Linked DNA regions of Homo sapiens: region 2 is linked to region 1. The links are contacts of gene promoters, found by promoter capture Hi-C in blood cells and fetal thymus (Javierre and others, 2016). All regions are on one chromosome and are shown on one strand. The core of a region is centred on a gene start or on the middle of the fragment in contact, and the rest is flanking DNA. Distances in the headings are between cores, read along the strand shown. Region 1 holds the start of SLC39A2 (solute carrier family 39 member 2). Region 2 overlaps LOC100507513 (a long non-coding RNA gene).

Evidence for each region. The method cuts DNA at HindIII sites, captures the fragments that hold promoters and counts their contacts. A CHiCAGO score of 5 or more calls a contact.
Region 2: a contact is called between a fragment that was not itself captured here and the fragment with the promoter of SLC39A2 in region 1, in 3 of 17 cell types (M0 macrophages, M2 macrophages and M1 macrophages). The highest score is 9.1, in M0 macrophages.

What each region holds. Positions count from the first base shown.
Region 1 is chr14:20,997,806-21,001,025 of GRCh38, forward strand. It overlaps SLC39A2 (solute carrier family 39 member 2), which reads left to right and starts at 1,488. Exons shown (of 4, transcript NM_014579.4): 1 at 1,488-1,756; 2 at 1,937-2,067; 3 at 2,311-2,361; 4 at 3,142-3,220. The coding sequence starts at 1,642. LOC101929718 (a long non-coding RNA gene) reads right to left here and starts at 1,358. Exons shown (of 4, transcript NR_110139.1): 1 at 969-1,358; 2 at 1-9. RefSeq lists an enhancer at 1,547-2,746. The HindIII fragment of the contact is 5,548 bases long and covers 272-3,220 here.
Region 2 is chr14:20,871,528-20,874,824 of GRCh38, forward strand. It overlaps LOC100507513 (a long non-coding RNA gene), which reads right to left. Exons shown (of 4, transcript XR_110261.4): 3 at 2,032-3,297. Among named protein-coding and RNA genes, the nearest start is that of RNASE3, 18 kb to the right of the region's middle. RefSeq lists enhancers at 2,265-2,364, 2,475-2,524. The HindIII fragment of the contact is 1,516 bases long and covers 743-2,258 here.

The DNA.
Region 1 (3,220 bases), core at 238-2,737:
GTGGGTTTGCTAAGAAAATAGAAGAACAGGAAGAAAAGTTGCCAGGTTCAGACATCCCAGGGAAAAAGAAGCGTAAACAGCATTAGCAATCAGTGACTGATGATAATGCTGCAATAATGGGAATGGTTTTATTTCTAAATCAAATCGTTTATTGCTTTGTTTCTAAAAAACAAAAAAAAAACTTCTACCTGCAGACCCCTAGTTTAGATTAATTAGGAAACATTCCCGCAGGTAGTCATAGAGCTTGAATTGTATATAAAAGCTAAAGAAAAGCTTGTAACTTTGAGTTGGTCTGGTGTGCTACTCCGACCTCCCTGTAATCAGTTGCAGAAATAAACTCCCGTCTTTCCCAGTCTGTCTGTCTGCATCTCATTACCGGACCACAAGAACAAGCAGCAGGACCAGTAACACTGTAAGAATCATCCAGTAACACTGTAAGAATACTGCTTCTACCAGAGGCCAGGACTTCCCTAGGAAAATAATCTGGAGTAGCAAGGAAAGCTGCCTCCAGAGCTCTGAGAACTGGCTCAACAGGTCTCAGGGTTGTTATGTGGGCCACCTGAATAGGGGAATCAGCAGCTGCCTGGCCTCTTGTACTAACGCCTTCCCTTCTGTCTTTCCCAGGGTCCCTCAGCTACCCTAGAGTATGTATGGGAAATGCCCCAGACATTTCCATCAAGAGTGATTCCCATCAGAACTGAATCTTCTACCCCCACCTCTCTATATCCAGGTAGAATCCTCCCATTCACTCAGTTCATTTCTGTTTTCCCCTAAGCCTTGCTGTTTCAGGGCTAGAGCAGCTTCCTTTGTCTTAAACCTTAAATGTCTTTTTTTCCACAGTTCTTACCAGGAAACAGGCACAGTTAGAAGTTGTAACAGTATAAATGTTGTAATACCAGACATCTCAACTCATTCCTCTCAAAACTGATCCCAATCAAAAGAGAAAGAAAAAAAACAAATCAACTTACCACTAGACATTTCCATGCCTGGAGCTATTTTTCTGGGGTTACAGGAAAGGGTAGTTCCCTCATGTGGGTACTAGTTCCCACAGAGTAGCACCAGCACCACCTCTCAGCCCCACCTCTTTACCTCCAGGTGGCCCCAAATCTCTGAAAGCGGGTGGTTCAAGTATCAGCATTGCAACCTATAAGACTTGGGATGAGGTGGAGAGGGTATGGAAGGCTTAGATCAAACGTCCTGAGTGAGACAGGACCAGATTGTCCCCAGTACAAAATAGCTGGGAAGCAGCTACCATAGACTTTCCTATTTTGGATTAGACCAACCCCAAGCACATGAACTAAGACTATCCGTAGCTCTTGGATTAGTCATGCCATTGAAGAGGAGGAGAAGACGCCACTGGGCTGTGCCTGGCAGGGAGTCTGGAGTTTCTGGTTTCCAAGCTCAGGAAGGCGTGAACCAGGGGAGGGGCCTCCATGCAGGGGGAGGGCTAGAAGCTGGGGCAGGATCTGTCAGCTCTGCAATGCTGCAGAAGCAGAAGCAACACAGAAAGAAGATACCAACAGCCTCCTGAAACTCACGAGAGTGGACACTCCAGTGTTGACCACCTAAGATACCACTCCTGCTCCAAAGATTACAGCTCCCTTGTCATTCTGACTCCTGGGCTTACCCTACACCCCAGAGATGGAGCAACTACTAGGAATAAAACTTGGCTGCCTGTTTGCCCTGTTGGCTCTCACTCTGGGCTGTGGCCTTACTCCCATCTGCTTCAAATGGTTCCAGATTGATGCAGCCAGAGGTATAGCCCTACCCCATCTTTGTTCCATAGCCTGAGTCTCACCTCAACCCTGTCCTGATACCTTGCTCTGATTCTCTCACCATCCCCAACCTTGGGATATTGAGTGCTGCCTGCTGCTCTTTACTCACCTTTGTCTGTCTCCTCAGTGTCAAGTGGGTTGTAACTTCTGCTTTTTATTAGGTCATCACCGGCTAGTCCTCAGACTCCTGGGCTGTATTTCTGCTGGTGTTTTCCTGGGAGCAGGGTTCATGCATATGACTGCTGAAGCCCTGGAGGAAATTGAATCACAGATTCAGAAGTTCATGGTGCAGGTGAGAGCAGAGATTTCAAGCCGCAGGTCTATGAGGCCAAAATGATAAACAGGACAAAGGGAAGAGAGCGGGAAAGTGATGGAGCCAAGGACATGGGTGGAACGACAAGGAAAATGACAGCTCTTGTGTGGGATGGTGAAAGCAAGTCAGATTAGGCTTTAAGGAAAACAGAATTGCTGAAGGGACAGCACAGGAAGCTGTGCTGCTCCATCCCACATCTAATTTCTGCTGCTTTCTTCTTAGAACAGATCAGCAAGTGAGAGAAATTCTTCTGGTGATGCTGATTCAGCTCATGTAAGTACCTCCCACCATCCCCTATCTGGAGAGTGAGGAGAACCAGAGAGGCCTTTCATATCCAGACCCTTTTGAGAGGAATACATGAGGAGTACCAAGAATCCCTTCTGCTCCCTAGCTCAGACATCGTAGAGGAAAAGAGGAGCAAATCCAATCCTTTTGAGTTTATAGAATGCCAGGGAAAGCCCTTGTTTTACTCTTTCATTCTTTCCCTGGATCCTCTGATATACCTCACATCATTTGCCCATGTTTTTAACTCTATTGAGATTCTGTCCCTTAGCCCCTCTGGCAGTCTTTTGTTGTTGTTGTTTTTCGTTTGTTTGTTGAGATGAAATCTCTCTGTCGCCCAGACTGGAGTACAGTGGCACAATCTCGGCTCACTGCAACCTCTGCCTTCCGAGTTCTAGTGATTTTCCTGCCTCAGCCTCCTGAGTAGCTGGGATTACAGGCACGTGCCACCACACCTGGCTAGTTTTTGTATTTTTAGTAGAGACGGGGTTTCATCATGTTGGCCAGGCTGGTCTCAATCTCCTGACCTCAAGTGATCTGCCCACTTCAGTCTCCCAAAGTGCTAGGATTACAGGCATGAGCCACTGTGTCCGGCCCACTCTGGCATTCTTGTTGTTGCATGGCCATGTCTACTCTTGGCTTCATTTCCCCTACCCTTTTTTGTGTTCTGTTACCACATTTTCTCATTCTCTTCAATCTCCCAATTCCATGTCCATCCAATGTATTGCCTACCCTTCCTTTCCATCTCACAGCCCTTCTTTTTGTTTCTAGATGGAGTATCCCTATGGAGAGCTCATCATCTCCCTGGGCTTCTTTTTTGTCTTCTTTTTGGAGTCGCTGGCATTGCAGT
Region 2 (3,297 bases), core at 251-2,750, 130 kb before region 1:
GTAAAGGAAGGAGTGGATGGGTGCTAGTTACAGCCCCAAGATCTGCGGCATTGACAGTGACTACAGTTTGTTTGTCCACAGTAAACTTCCTCTTAAGTTTCCCTTCAGGAACAGAGACTGGTAGGAAGCCTGGAGGAGTTGTCTCTTGAACCTGTCTGGGGAAGCAGATCTGTGTGGCTCAAGAGGTGGACCTGGCCAGGCACGGTGGCTCACACCTGTAATCCCAGCACTTTGGGAGGCTGAGGAGGGCAGATCACCTGAGGTAAGGAATTCAAGACCAGCCTGGCCAACATGGTGAAACCCTGTCTCTACTAAAAATACAAAAATTAGCTGGGTGTGGTGGCGCATGCCTGTAATCCCAGCTACTCAGGAGGCTGAGGAAGGAGAGTTGCTTGAACCCAGGAACCGAAGGTTGCAGTGAACCGAGATTGTGCCACTGCACTCCAGCCTGGGTGACTGAGTGAGACTCAATCTCAAAAAAAAAGACGGACCCATTCTAAAAAAGTTTCTACATGAGTTTATAAGTACTCGCTTCTGCATGTCTGAAAAAATCTCTGTCTAATAAGAGAGACACACCTCAAAAGTTTTATCAATAAAAAAGGTACAAAAAAGTCAGAATAAAAATAGGACATAAAATCAATGCTATAAATATTAAACAGATTATGAATAACTTTGTGCTAATATATTTGGGAACTTTAGACGAAATGGATAAATTCCTACGTGGGAAAAAACAATCTACCAAAGCTTTCTCAAGAAGAAATGGAAAAGTTAGCATCTCTTTAACCATTAAGGAAATTGAAACAGAAGTTTAAAATAGTTTGAGGCTAAGCCTGGTGGTGTGTACCTGTAGACCCAGCTACTCTGGAGGCTGAGGCAGCAGGATTATTCGAGATCAGGAGTTCAAGCCCAGGAGTTTGAGGCACCTGAGACCGAGTGTTCAAGGATCAGTTGAGACCAGTAATTCGAGGTATGCTCTGTGATTGCACCTGTGAATAGCCACTGCACACTAGCCTGGGCAACATAGGAAGACCCATCTCCAAAAAAAAAAAAAAAGGAAAAGAAAAAAGAAAAAGCAGTCTCAAAGAAAATAAGAAAATATCAGGACCAAACAGCCTTACATGTGAGTTCTACCAAGTATTAAAATAACATATAATTCCAGTTACAAAATAAAGAAGGACTACTCCCCAATTCATTTCTGGAAGCTAACATATAACCTAGATACCAAAATTAAACAAGGCAATACAAAAAATTACAGACCAATCTCATTCGTGAACATAAATGCAAAAAAAATTTAACAAAATATTAGCAAATTAAATTTAGTCATATATAAAAAAGATTATATCACATAACCAAAATGGGTTTATCCCAGGAATACAAGGTTGGTTTAGTATTCTAAAATCAACTAATCTAATTCACCCCATTAACTGATTAAAGAAATATGCTGTATAATCCCATCATTCAACGAAATTCCCAATCCATTCAAGAGACATAAACAGGAGCAGAAGGGAAGAAACTTTTCTAATCTAAAAATGGGCATCTACAAAAGATCCACAGCAACAACCAGACCTACCAAAATGGCCCCTTAAAGATTTCTTGAAGGCACTTTTATAGCGAGCATTAGGCTAAGTGCTGAATGTCAAGAACAAAGGCAAAACAGCTATACCTCCTGGCATCGGGGGAAGGAATGAAAGTAATAGTATCCAGTTTTGTCACTGGATTATTCCAAAAGGGTAAAATCCTCACGCAACTCTGTTCCACAGGCACCGGGCTAGTCAGTTAATGGACGGCTGCCCTAGAGTCAAGTGCCCTCCTTTGCTTCAAAACCTTGTCACCATTCTGCTGGAGTCACAGGGTAGAGAATATGAACACCTTTGGATGCTTCCTCTCGTGGATAAAATAACCTCCTTCAGAAGGGGATCGGTGATGTAATGGATTCCATGAAAGAAATAAACTCTTCTCCAGCGCAGCTGAACTGTAAAGCTCATAACACAAGTAGGTCCTCAGTGCATATTCACTTCCTTTCCTTCTTACCTGAGGTGCTGCAGTGTGAATCTGAAGGTGGCAGGTTCAACGTTAAAGTGCTGCAGTGTATGAAAGTTATGGTAGACTCAGAAATCTGTTCTTCAACAGTTAGACTGTATTTATGCTGGCTGGATTTTGTTTATTCACCTATTATCGTCTACCCGTGTCAGCAACCAAGAAACCTGCAGCCTGTCTCAAAGGAAACCAAGAAAGAAGTTTTGGACTCTTGTGCAGGAAGCTTGTGGCGCGGCGCCCCCTGCCGACCAATACGACGGCCACGGGAACTGGGAGACCACGAAGGCTCTGGGCCTGCGGAGTTGCCCAAGCTCCTCCGGCTTCTCCGGAAACGGCTTTTTCCGGTGACACCCCTGGAGCCACAGTGATTTGTTTCCCTAAAGGAAGCGGTTTCCCGCCAGGGTATCGTCCCTAATACCCTCCGAAGGAGCCCATTGAGGAGAAAGGCATAGAATGTCCCGCAGAAGGCAGAAGGACCCTATGATCCAGGAAACCTAGGGCCAGCCATCAGGAGGTTTTATGAGAGCAGCTGGTGGGAAGATCAGCCCCAGGAGAAGGGGATTGTCTAGCAGCTTGGTTGGAGCAAGTCTTTTCCCGAGTATTATTTCCGTAATTCAGGCTCCCTCCCACCAACCCTCCACTGCAGCCTTATCCTCCACCAAAAGCCCTGACACTGTGGCAGGGGTAGGGCACATGGGGTTGGTGGGGAACAGGCTGTAAGAAAGACGCAGGAGCCTGCGTGCAAAGGACGAAGCATTTACAAAGAAGACCTTGACAGTGCTGCACAGATTTGAAGGCGTAGGGTGCAAGTCATTCAGGTGCCGTTGTCAGGAGGAACCTAGCCATCCAGGTGAACAGATGCCCCCTTCTTGCAGCCCACTCGCATGGGCCTGGTGGACTCCTTCTTATTTTTGGTAGTGGCAGTGAAGAGGTCGGGTCCCTGTGCTGGCAAAGCAGTCAGTGACATTGACATCATGAGTACTGTTGTGGCAGCTGCACATGGAGGGGCTGTTGGTACAGGGCAGTGGTGGAGTTCTGCAGAAATCTGCTATGGTGGTCAGATTCTATGAATGAATGTGTGGATCTGCTCGCATTTACCCCTATAGATCAGCCAACGGCACCTCATCATCACATCACAGTATCGGTGGTGTCCTCTAGGGACCCACGACCTGGGGTTGTCTAAATGTCGTGTTGAGAAGGGCAGGGCTGGAATGAAGACAGTTACGTCCAAAAGGAGGAAAAGGAGGAGGGTCCACATCA